Linked DNA regions of Homo sapiens: region 1 is linked to region 2. The links are contacts of gene promoters, found by promoter capture Hi-C in blood cells and fetal thymus (Javierre and others, 2016). All regions are on one chromosome and are shown on one strand. Each heading gives the region's core, a stretch centred on a gene start or on the middle of the fragment in contact. The rest is flanking DNA. Distances are from core to core; before and after follow the strand shown. Region 1 has its middle 67 kb from the start of XXYLT1-AS1. Region 2 holds the start of XXYLT1-AS1 (XXYLT1 antisense RNA 1).

Evidence for each region. Contacts are between HindIII fragments. The CHiCAGO score rates a contact against its expected background, and 5 or more counts as called.
Region 1: a fragment that was not itself captured here is called in contact with the fragment with the promoter of XXYLT1-AS1 in region 2 in 1 of 17 cell types (endothelial precursors); the score reaches 6.3 in endothelial precursors.

What each region holds. Positions count from the first base shown.
Region 1 is chr3:195,024,774-195,031,160 of GRCh38, forward strand. No RefSeq gene overlaps it. Among named protein-coding and RNA genes, the nearest start is that of XXYLT1-AS1, 67 kb to the right of the region's middle. RefSeq lists an enhancer at 5,623-6,387. The HindIII fragment of the contact is 2,044 bases long and covers 2,658-4,701 here.
Region 2 is chr3:195,093,155-195,098,804 of GRCh38, forward strand. It overlaps XXYLT1-AS1 (XXYLT1 antisense RNA 1), which reads left to right and starts at 1,434. Exons shown (of 4, transcript NR_104188.1): 1 at 1,434-1,524; 2 at 2,131-2,223; 3 at 2,445-2,553; 4 at 2,766-2,903. All of the region lies in intron 3 of XXYLT1 (xyloside xylosyltransferase 1), which reads right to left. RefSeq lists enhancers at 875-944, 1,065-1,234, 1,305-1,354, 1,819-3,018. The HindIII fragment of the contact is 5,440 bases long and covers 1-3,602 here.

The DNA of each region.
Region 1 (6,387 bases), core at 2,430-4,929, 66 kb before region 2:
TGTATTTTTAGTAGAGACGGGGTTTCACTGTGTTAGCCAGGATGGTCTCGATCTCCTAACCTTGTGATCCGCCCGCCTTGGCCTCCCAAAGTGCTGGGATTACAGGCGTGAGCCACTGCACCCGGCCTTGTTTTCCATGTTCTTTGGAATATACATGCTGTTTCCCATAATGGCTGTACTAATTTACATTCCCACCAACAGTGAGCAAGGGTTCCCTTTTCTCCACACCCTCACCACTTTTATCTTTTTTTTTTTTTTTTTTTTGAGATGGAGTTTCACTCTTGTTGCCCAGGCTGGAGTGCAGTGGCACAACTTCGGCTCACCACAACCTCCGCCTCCCTGCAACCTTCGCCTCTCGGGTTGAAGCAATTCTCCTGCCTCAGCCTCCTGAGTAGCTGGGATTACTGGCGCCCGCCACCATGCCCGGCTAATTTTTGTTTCTTGGTAGAGACAGGGTTTCACCATGTTGGGCTCCCACAACTTCTCTCCCAGGAGCTACGGGTTGGGACTTGGGCCCCTCTCTTCTGCTTCTCGTTACAGCCCTGACATCCCAGTTTGCCTTCACACCCAGCCCAGTGTAGATGGCCCTTGTTAAGATGAAACTTTAATTTTCCAACAGTAGGCAAAACGGTGGGCGTGTCACTTCCCTCTCTAGAGAGTTTCCTGATTTAGCAAACATAATTAATCCCATCCATTTGACCTCAATGTCCTTTTCACATTTCCCTCCAATACAGATGTTCTCAAACCCTGGCTGTTTATTAAAGCCATCTGAGGCACTTTCAGACAATACCCATGCCCAAGCCCCCAGACCATTCCGTCAGAATGGAGAGGGGAGCACAGGTGATTCTCCTGCAAAGCCAGAGAACCCCTCTTCTTAGCTCCCCATAAAACTCCTGTTCAAAGCCTTAGGCCAGTATCAGTTATTTCTTTCTCCAAGCGAGATAATGCAGAGGCATTTTACTGTGTATAATTTGTGATGCTATCACTTTTTCCCCAGGCCGTCTTTATGCAGACCAACCCAAGATGAAATGTTCGGGGTTGGGCAGGCAGATCCTTCAGCCCGAGTGGTGTGGCAAGCTGGAGGGAGGGGGAGGCGTGGCACCAACTCTGGGGAAGTTTCATGACAGCGAAGCTCAATCATCACAGCTGAACACCCAGGTCAGGTGAGGGAGGCCCCAGCCATCCCAAGACGGAGCAAAGCCCTCGGCAGTCAAGTTAGTTGGGCTGGACCAGGCCCCGGAGCTCAGAGGTGGAAGTAGTTTCAGACTGATGAGTTCAACAGGATGATTTTGTTCTGTGAAGTGGAAGCAGCTGGCAAATTGGAGGCTCTCACAGAGCCTGTCTCTTATAAGTAATGGGAAATGAGAAATTGTCCTCAGCAAAAACAGAGGGAGCTCCAAGGAGCCACAGTTTAAATGTCCACCCAGGCCAGGAGCGGTGGCTCATGCCTGTAATCCCAGGACACTGGGAGGCCGAGGCGGGCGGATCACTTGAGGCCAGAAGTTTGAGACCAGCCTGGCCAACATGGTGAAACCCCATCTCTACTAAAAATACAAAAATACAAAAATTAGCCAGGCTATGGTGGCGCACACCTGTAACCCCAGCTATTCAGGAGGCTGAGGCGGGAGAATCACTTGAACTCGGGAGGCAGAGATTGCAGTGAGCTGAGATCGTGCCACTGCACTCCAGCCTGGGCGACAGAGAGAGACCCTGTCTCAAAAAAAAAATATATATATATACATATATATATCCACCAGAGACAAGCTCCTCTAACACAGACACCTGCATGTAAACTATAGGCACAAAGGTAAAATAACAGGAAGGGCCCTAGATTTGGGAGTCAATATAACTGGATTCAAAGGCCAGCCCTGCCCTCCCCTTAAATCCCAGCACATCTTTGCCAACATTGGTTTATCAAACTTTTAATGTTTTCCAACAAAGAGGTGATAAATGTTATCCCATTCTTTTAATTTACATTCCAATGACATTTTAATAGAACTATAAAACACCAGAGTTGAAAGAGACCTCAGTGATCAAGTACTCAAATGCCTTCGTTTAAAGAATTTTTAAATTGAGTATAAGTAATACATTGACACATTATCATGGTAAAATTATATATATATTATATATATATATAGAGAGAGAGAGAGAGAGAGAGAGCAATCTATTGAATAGAAAATGAAAATTCCACTTTGCACCTTCCTCTGACTCTCTTACTGAGGGTAAATTGATGTTCATCATTGCTACATGATGGGTAATTTGCTACATATCTACTTGCATATGTAAATGCATAAAAGTATAGTGAGTTGTGGTATTTTACATAAAAGATATATAGCCGTATATCTTTTTTTGTAATTATTATTTTCTAACAACACATTCTAAGGGTGTCTTAACACATATCTCAGAAATCTTTCTGTATCAGTACACATAGACCTGTTCCACTCTTTGCTCCATAATATCCTATAGTATGGGGTGTATTTGTTATCCATTGCTGGATAACAAATTACCCCCCAAATTTAGCAGCTTTAAAACAAAAACAATTTATTATTTCACACAGATTCTGAGATCAGGAGCCCTGAAACAGCCCCTCATGGTGGTTCTGGATCAGGGCCTGTCGTGGGGTTGCAGCTGAGCTGGCAGGGCTGTGGTCATCTGAAAGCTTGATTGGGGTTAAAGGATCCACAGATAAGATGGCTAACGCCCATGGCTGTTGGCTAAAGGACTCAATTCCTTTCCACGTGGGCCTCTCTACAGGGCTGCTCACAACTAGGCAGCTTCCCCAGGGCAAGGGATTCAAGAGCAAGGAGAGAGAAAACCCAAGATGGAAGCGGCTTAGGTTTTACTAAGCCCGGGAGTGCCATGCCATTCCTTCTGTTACAGGTAGTGAGACAGGCATGAGCAGGGCAGGAGAGGGCTCTGGGGGAATGTTGGGTGATGGTTTGGCAATGATCACACTGCCTCTCTAAAAGTGATAAATTGGCAGCCAGTGCCAGGGAGAGGCCATTTCCTCATGGACCACACCTGCTGCACTAAAGTGTTCATTGAATGCAGGTGCCAGGGAGACACAACTTCCCAGGCATGGTGCATTAAGAGACAAAATGGCAGAGTATGACCCTCTGGGAGCACCCCACAAGAAAAGGGAAGAAAGCCTCAGGTGGGTATGTGTACAACTTCCTATACACACTGTGTAAGGGTAAGGAGGGCACTGCACATGCAGGCAGCTCACCCTAAGGTGAGAATCACGAGAAAGGGGCCAGCCCAGAAAGTCCTCGGATCAAGGTTAAACGCTGCACTTGTTCTGACGTCGCCCGCTTGGGGTCTTTTCCCAGTGTACTTTCTTTCCTGGTCTAAAGGCTTTATAAAAACCTTCCACTCCTCCTCTTGCCTTCCTCTCTTTTTCAGCCTTAGGCCCGTCAGTCAAATTCTTTCTTCTGAGGAGGCAAGAATTGAGGTTGCTGCAGACCCACACGGATTCACCGCTGGTAACTCAGATACCTTCCAACCTTCCACTGGTAACAATTCTGCCATATGCTGTTGGTCAAGCAGATCTTCCCTGGTTCAGTGTGGAAGAGGACTACACTGGGGGGATGCCAGGAGGTGGAGATCACAGGGATTGACTTGGAGACCTGCTGCCACATATGGTCACCAGGGTTATTCTCCATTCTCACAGGTGGCCTCCCGTTTCTCATGCTCACAGGCGGCACTGCCATGAGCATCCTTGGGCATGCTTCTGTGAGTTTTTTTGTTTTGTTTTGTTTGTTTGTTTTGTTTTTGAGATGGAGTCTTGCTCTATCACCCAGGCTGGAGTGCAGTGGTGCGATCTCGGCTCACTGCAACCTCCACCTTCCAGGTTCAAGCGATTCTCCTGCCTCAGCCTCCTGAGTAGCTGGGATTACAGGTGCACGCCACCATGCCCAGCTAATTTTTGTATTTTTACTAGAGACGGGGTTTCACCATGATGGCCAGGCTGGTCTCGAACTCCTAACCTCAGGCAATCCACCCACCTCTGTTCCCACTGAGCATGCCTCTTAATGCCCAGGTACGTCTCTTCTAGTCCTAGTGGTAGAATGGCTGCAATTCTTGCATTTTCAAATGGGAAACTGAAACCAGAGGAAGGTGACTTCTCCAAGGTCATACTGTTAATCGCCTACGAGTCCAGGATGACATCAGTCACCTGACTTCCAGCCTACTTTATTTTCAGAGCCACTCTGTAGGCAAAATACACATGGCCTGAGATTTCAGGAAGTATGTTGAGATAAAGCCTGGCTGGGAATTGCCAAGAGTCAGTTTCCAGAACGACAAAACGTGTAATGGCTAATCTTGCTTTGTAGGCACTACATAAACGTCACTACACTCAAAGCCTAGATTAGCCAATGCATGAATGTCTAATCTGCCTTGATTAAAAGGAAGCTGGTGGAAATGAGGAATCTTTTCCATGCTGTCATTAGCAGAAACTTCGGAGTGAGACAGACCCGGGTTTGAGTTCTGGCTCTAGCTCTGTGACTGTAAGCCAGCCACATCATTCCTGTGTCATGGTTTCTCCATCTGTAAAATGGGAATCATCAGAGTACCAACTTCACAGGCTGTTCAGTGGATGATGTGATGGTGTAGATCATGCACTCAGCGAGGGGCTGGCAGGCTTCCCACAGGAGCTGCTGCTATTTGTATTCTCCCTGTCTGGCCTACTTCATTTATCCATCAAGCTTCCTGAATGAATGGATTCCATTTTCTAAAAAATAGATGGTACCTGGAGAGCTCATTTTATTCCATTTTCCCACATCTTGACTCTGCTGTTAATACCATCCATTATTTTGTGGCCTGCTTTTTGTTGCATACTGTCAGATTTGTGATGAATGTAGCACAGCGTGGGCGTGAAGTCAATACAGAGCCTCCTGAGAGCTGCCCCTGTGGCCCAGCACAGACTACTTCTTGCCCCTTGTGTGGCTGGCTGTATGTGCAACTGTCTCTGCGGGCAGGACCTGAATCCTCCTCACCTCTGTGGCTGTAATGTGTCTGGAATGAATGAATGAATGAATGAATGAATGAATGAACAAATGAAAAAAAGGGATCGGCCGGGCGCGGTGGCTCATGCCTGTAATCCCAGCACTTTGGGAGGCCGAGGTGGGCAGATCACAGGAGGTCAGGAGTTCGAGACCAGCCTGACCAACACGGAGAAACCCCGTCTCTACTAAAAATACAAAATTAGCTGGGCGTGGTGGCACGTGCCTGTAATCCCAGCTACTTGGGAAGGTGAGGCAGGAGTATCGCTTCACGCCGGGGGCAGAGGCTGTGGTGAGCTGAGATCGCACCATTGTACTCCAGCCTGGGTAACAAGAGCGAAACTCTGTCTCAAAAAAAAAAAGGATCAATAGAACCAAATCAACTGAAATGAATGGGTCACAAAGGACATCGCTGGAACATTGAATTATTGCCTGGATTTGGATTTAAAATGTTAAGAGTATTGTAGAGATTTAGAATAACTTTGAGTCCTCCAACATCCAGCAGAAGGAAAGATGGGATACTGTGGGTCGAAGGATGGGGTACTCTGGGTTGAAGGATGGGGTACTGTAGGTCGGGAAAAAGGAAGAGGGGCCAAGTATTGCGCCGGTTTTCTGTGCGATGAGTTTAAGGTGTTTTCGGGCCTCCAGAGTAGACCTCATCTGCTGGGTTGGGTTTAAGGGAGAGACCCATGGCTTTTTACCAGCTGTGCAGCAGGTTAGCAAACAGGCTTTTACCCTGAAGCCACTGGATATCCCCGAGCTTCAGGAGAGAACCCTGGAAACCCTACTGCTCTTCAGAATCAACAAGCCCTGGAATGTTTCTGGCCAGAGCCAGGCAAGGACAGAGATTTAAAGGGGATGTGACAAGTGTCCCAGGTAAGTGACACCCAGGCCCAAACTGGAAGGGTACCAGCATTCTCCCTGTTTGAGGATCCTTGTCAGGGACCTCAGCCATAGGGAACATCTGAGCTTGGCCTCTGAGCCCTTCCGTCCACTCCTAGCACTGCCTCCACAGCCCCAAAGAAGACCCCACTTCTCCTCGAGGGTGGCTGGCCTGCTGGCAAAGACCATTTCCTCCTCCTCCACTTGGGAAGCCAGGGGAGCCTGGCCCGGCCCATCAGCTGGGCCAGAGGGCGGTACTGCCCTGGGGTGCCCTGAGGGAGAAGGGCAGGGCTCCGGGTGCCTGTGCAGTGCTGGGCCTCAGCAGGGGCCTGGCCCAGTGTGACCGCAGCGCCACAATAGCCAGGCTCCCCCCGAGGGCATCTTGTACGCAGGCTGATACTTTGAGCTTACTCATTCCAAACCCCTTTGCTGTCCTTCCTCAGGAAGCTTCCTATTGAAAGATAAATGCTCTGTCTGTGATCAAACAGATTTACATTTATTTACT
Region 2 (5,650 bases), core at 184-2,683:
TTTGACCCAGCCATCCCATTACTGGGTATATACCCAAAGGACTATAAATCATGCTGCTATAAAGACACATGCACACGTATGTTTATTGTGGCATTATTCACAATAGCAAAGACTTGGAACCAACCCAAATGTCCAACAATGATAGACTGGATTAAGAAAATGTGGCACATATACACCATGGAATACTATGCAGCCATAAAAAATGATGAGTTACTGTCCTTTGTAGGGACATGGATGAAATTGGAAATCATCATTCTCAGTAAACTATCGCAAGTACAAAAAACCAAACACCGCATATTCTCACTCATAGGTGGGAATTGAACAGTGAGATCACATGGACACAGGAAGGGGAATATCACACTCTGGGGACTGTTGTGGGGTGGTGGGAGGGGGGAGGGATAGCATTGGGGGATATACCTAATGCTAGATGACGAGTTAGTGGGTGCAGCGCACCAGCATGGCACATGTATACATATGTAACTAACCTGCACAATGTGCACATGTACCCTAGAACTTAAAGTATAATAAAAAAATAAAAATAAATAAATAAATAAATAAATAAAATTAGATGCTACTTCAAGCCATTACCTGGGGAAAGTAATTAGACTCCTCCGAAAATAACAGCAGTTCTGCTGCCACTCCTGGAGCCTTTCTTCTGGAATTATCTGGCCGTCCTCCCGCTGCCCTTCTCCCCACAGCTGTTCAGGGTGCAGAACTGCCCACTGGGGAAAAGGTGCCCTGACTCCAAGCGCATCCAAACTAATTAGGAGCCTATCCTCCCCCAGCCCACGTCCGTGGAGGCGCCATACCCCCAAGGCCTGGTGCAGTCAAGGGGAGAGTGTCAGCTGCTCCCCTCGGGGACAGTGGCAGCTCCTCCTCCTCCTCCTCCTCTTCCTCCTCCCTGTGTGGAATTTCGTGGGCTGGCTTGCTGGGGAGGCCATGAAACATGAAATTCACAGCACTGGCCTCTCCTGTTCCTAGGTCTCAGACTGAGGGAAAAGCATAAAGAAACGCTGGCTGTGGACGCACCTTGGAAGGAGGCAAAGGAGAAAAGAAAGCAAGCACCCGACACAGCCCAGCGAGGCCCCAAGGAGGCCCCACGCCCCACTGCCTGTCTGCACTCTGCTGAAACCCACATCCACGCCCCCAGGCCAGCTGGCATCTTCCACGCTTCCCTGCTCTCTTGGGGCCTCCTCCCTCACGCCCTCAGTGTCACCTCGCCCTTTGCCCAAGACCAACAGACACCTGCCCACACGCATGCAGGCCCAGAGTGGCCCGACCAGGCTTCCTCGCCCCTTGTTCTGTCCAGACACAAAGCTGACATGGGAGTCCGGTCGGCAGACTCATCCCCACACCCTGTACAAAGCTGGACACCCGCGGAGACCTCCGGAAGCCAAGATCTAAGCGCTTCGATCCCACATTCACAAGCCCCCTCAGCGGGGATTCCCAGACGCACGCTTCTCCTGAGAGAGTCCAGCCCCTCCTGGCGGCCGTGGTCCCTGGATGCGGGTGCTCGAGGCCTGTGTGGGTAATCACGCTTCCCGTCTCCACGCCACCCTTCCCCCACAGAGTCGCCTGCCCTTCCACACAGACAAGGGGCCACAAGGCCGCACCTTCCCCTCTCCACACAGCCTGCGAAGGCATCGCAGATGCCATTCTGATTAGCAAATGCTGCCTCTGCTCCACCACGCACCTGTTCTGTGGCTCAGCTCTGCCACTGGCCCTCCAGAAGGTTTTCTCAGCTAACCCCACTGGCCTCCACCTCCCCTCCCAGGGTTCTCTCACATAAGAGTTACTAGATGCAGGGCAGTGCTTCCCAGACCTTACTGTGCGGGGGAAATGTGTGTCCGGGATCTGGTTAAAATGCAGACTGGGATTCCGCATCGCTGACAAGCCCCCAGGTGATACCAACGCTACTGGTCTGCAGGCCACACTTTTGAGTAGTGAGAAGGTGGAGGTAAGAGTGAGGACTCTGAGTCAGGGAAAGTGTGTTCTGGCCCCAGCTCCACCAGAACTAAGCATTACATCTCATGAGACTGCCGTGAGGGCTGCATGAGGTAATGCAGTGTCTGGCTGTCGCGGGAACGCAGCGTGCACTCGCAAATGCAAATTCTCTTCCTCTTGCTCCAGTCTTCTCCCTGTGGCGGTGGTGAGTGTAATGCCTCAGAAGACTCTGCCAGGGCATTAAACAAAGTCATACGCGAACCCCCCGGTGCACGGCAGGTGGGTGATGTGGGTTCTCCTTCCTTGCCTTCCACCATCTGGGACTGGGGCCAGCACAGAACCTGTGCCCCATATGGTCAGGGAAGGCAGGGGGACAGCTCCTAGAGCTGAGCCTTGCAGATGGGCACTCTTACAGCCGGGCCTCCACATCCAGTTTGAGTGCTCATGTGTGGTGTTGGGGAAAGGGGTCGTTCAGGTCACACTGGTGGGCAATTCTTCAGGGGACTTTGTCACCTGTGTGCTTATGCGTGAGCAACAGCGCCTGATGACTCTTGGGAAGAGCCACAACAAAGCGAGGGCCTGCAGGCGGCAGTGGCCAGGGAACCCTAGGTAAGGCCCTAACACGTGCGGTCCCCTGATCTGCGGGTGGGGCAGCCTTCACTGGAGGGGGAGTGAGTCTCAGTGAATCAGAGTGGGTACATGTGGAGCTGCAGGTCAGCAGCTCAACAGGGATGAGTAAGGTGCTTTCAGAGGCCACGTTAACCACATCTGGCTGGGAAGGAACCAGTTAGCAAACCTCTCTTTCCCTGCCCTGTTTCCAGCCCACAGGAACTCAAGCAGCTTCAGAGAAGGTCTTACTTGTTTCCGGGGAGAGGCCAGAGGCTCCGGGAACCCAATTCAATATGTAATATATAGCAGTGTCCACGCTATGGTCTAAGCAAAGGCAAGAGGAGAAATAAGGTTGATGGATGGCTCCATCCTTAGCACGCGTTTATGGACACCCACCCAGCCTTCTCCCAGCCGCCACGGCTCTCCACACACAGACAAAAGCAAAGCCCTTTGACCTTAAGCAGAAAAGTACACTGTCTCAACATACTTTTATAGAGTACCTGCTAAGCCTGGGGCCACCTAGGGGAGATTGGAGGGTCCCTCTAGCATGGCTGCAGCCCATGCACAGCAGGAGGATCTGTGTGGCCAGACGGGGAGGCTGGTGACAGTGGCGCAGACACAGCACTCAGAGGCCTCCAGGTGCGGAGAAACAACATGTGACGCAGACACCATGCTCTGTTCCCAGTGCGTCCCCAACACACACACGTATATATACACGACCATGCCCATGTGCACTTACATAATACACATGCACATACGCACACGTGTACGTAACAGACGCACATGCTGACAAACACACACGATACACACACACACACGCATACATTTCCTCGGCCTTCGGGAAAATGGAGTTCAACCTCCCATCTGAAGTTGAACTCGTTTCTTCAGAAGTGAGTCTGAGTCTTCATTTCTCAGGCACAGATGTGCAAGGAAACCATTCCTTCTCCTCCTCAGGCCTTCTCAGTGCCCTGGTAATATTTACACAGTTATTTAACAAGCAAGGCTGAGCTTTCCTTTCAACTGGCAATTAAAATCAGAACATAGAGACAAGCTTTGTAAAGCTTGGTTTCCATAGAGGATAATTTTCTTCCATGGGTTTAAAAAAATGAGAATCTTGACTGAAACTGTAGGTACTCACGTCAACAGTAATGCCCACTCAGTCTTCCAAATTGAGATAGAATGTGACTACCTTTTGCTGGAGGTTAGAAATAGTTCAAATTTGTATAATTTGTTTCCCAATTTAATAAGAAAAACAACAGGGGTGAAAATGGTCAGGCTGCGCTGAGCGCTGGGCAAAGGCAGGCTGTTCTGATTCCCGCCCAGCAGACCCCTCAGACGGGCTCCCCTGGCGTCCCTCTGCTGGGACTTCCCATGTCCCTGTTGTCTTGAAGAAAGGAACAAGACATATAGGCCGGTTCATTTTTAATCTGCTGCTGGTGTGGCCCAGTCCCCTCAACCAGACTGCTGGCAACTTTAAGTTGGAGACAGTTCTTGGAAGCAGGCTCAGTGCTGAGTTGGTTTTGACATAAGAATACATACACAGACAGACAGACAGAGAGATATACTGTAGCTGACATTTACTAAATGCCAGTCACCTTTTAAACAATTTATATCAATGATTTCATCCTCACTAAACTTTGTGACGCGGGTTACAGCAATGGCAAATGCGTATCAACACGTATCTAGCACCACGTGTGGGTTACAACAGCAGCAAATGCGTATCAACACGTAGCTAGCACCACGTGCCACCACATGCAAGCACTGTTGTGTTTATATCTGTGACCTCATTCAGCTTTCATAAACTTATGAGGTTGTTATTATCATGATCCCCACTTTATAGACAAGGAAACTGAGGCTTACAAGGGTTAAGGAATTGAGTCAAAGCCCCCCAGCTAGTAAGTGGTGAGGTCTGGATTTAAACCCAGGCAGCCTGGCCTGGAGCCCCCACTGATAAGACTGTCCTCGGCTGCCTCTCAGTGCATGGCGAGCACCCTGTGAACAGTCGCCAAGATAAAACCCAGCCCTGAGCACCTCCGCTGGGACCACACAACTGCTTCTGATTCTCCGGGGGAGTGTGAGTGGAGAAAAGACCCTCACACAAATGCCCCCACCCCCCCACCACGCACACACAAAGAAGTCAGGCTGGGCAGGAAAGACGCTTCAAACCAAATGTCTGGACAAAGAAAAGATGAGACTGGTGGAGGGGAACCGAGAAAGGCTCATGGAAGGTACTGTGGTGGTGAATAAGGAAGGACCCACAGAGTCCCACAGTCCCAGCAGTGGGGCGGGTCGGGAGGGGAACAGTGTGCTTCTGGGCCTAGGGGCAGCAGAGAGTGGCGGAGGAGACAAATGTGCATGATTCCACACACAGGAAATACCAAGAACAGGCACGCTCACAGGCAGGTTAGAGCTGGGGAGAGGCAGGAAATGGGAAGTTATTATTGAATGGGTACAGGGTTTCTGTTTGGGGTGATGCACATATACGAGAAACGGTGGTGATGGTTGTACAACATTGTGAATAGAATTAATGCCAGTGACTGTACACTTCAAAACGGTTAAAATGGAGCCAGGTGCAGTGGCTCACGCCTGTAATCCCAGCACTTTGGGAGGCTGAGGCGGGTGGATCACGAGGTCAGAAGATCGAGACCATCCTGGCTAACATGTTGAAACCCTGTCTCTACTAAAAATACAAAAAATTAGCCGGGCGTGGTGGTGCGCGCCTGTAGTCCCAGCTACTTGGGAGGCTGAGGCAGGAGAATGGCGTGAACCCGGGAGGCGGAGCTTGCAGTGAGCGGAGATCGTGCCACTGCACTCCAGCCTGGGAGACAGAGAGAGAGACTGTCTCAACAACAACAACAAAAGGTTAAAATGGCGAATTCTGTGTTATGTATATATTTGACCATAATCTCTCTTCACAGTGGCAGAGGAGGTGAAGCCACGGGCCTTGATGCTGTCAAGGTCTCGGGAGCCCTCCTCGCTGCGCTGGCCCCTGCTGCAGAGCCCGTCATCAGAAGAAAGTGATTTTTTTCCTATGGGTTCTGACAGTTAAGGCCCTGGTGCCTCTTGATGGCAATCAGAGGGACTGGAAAACTCACTC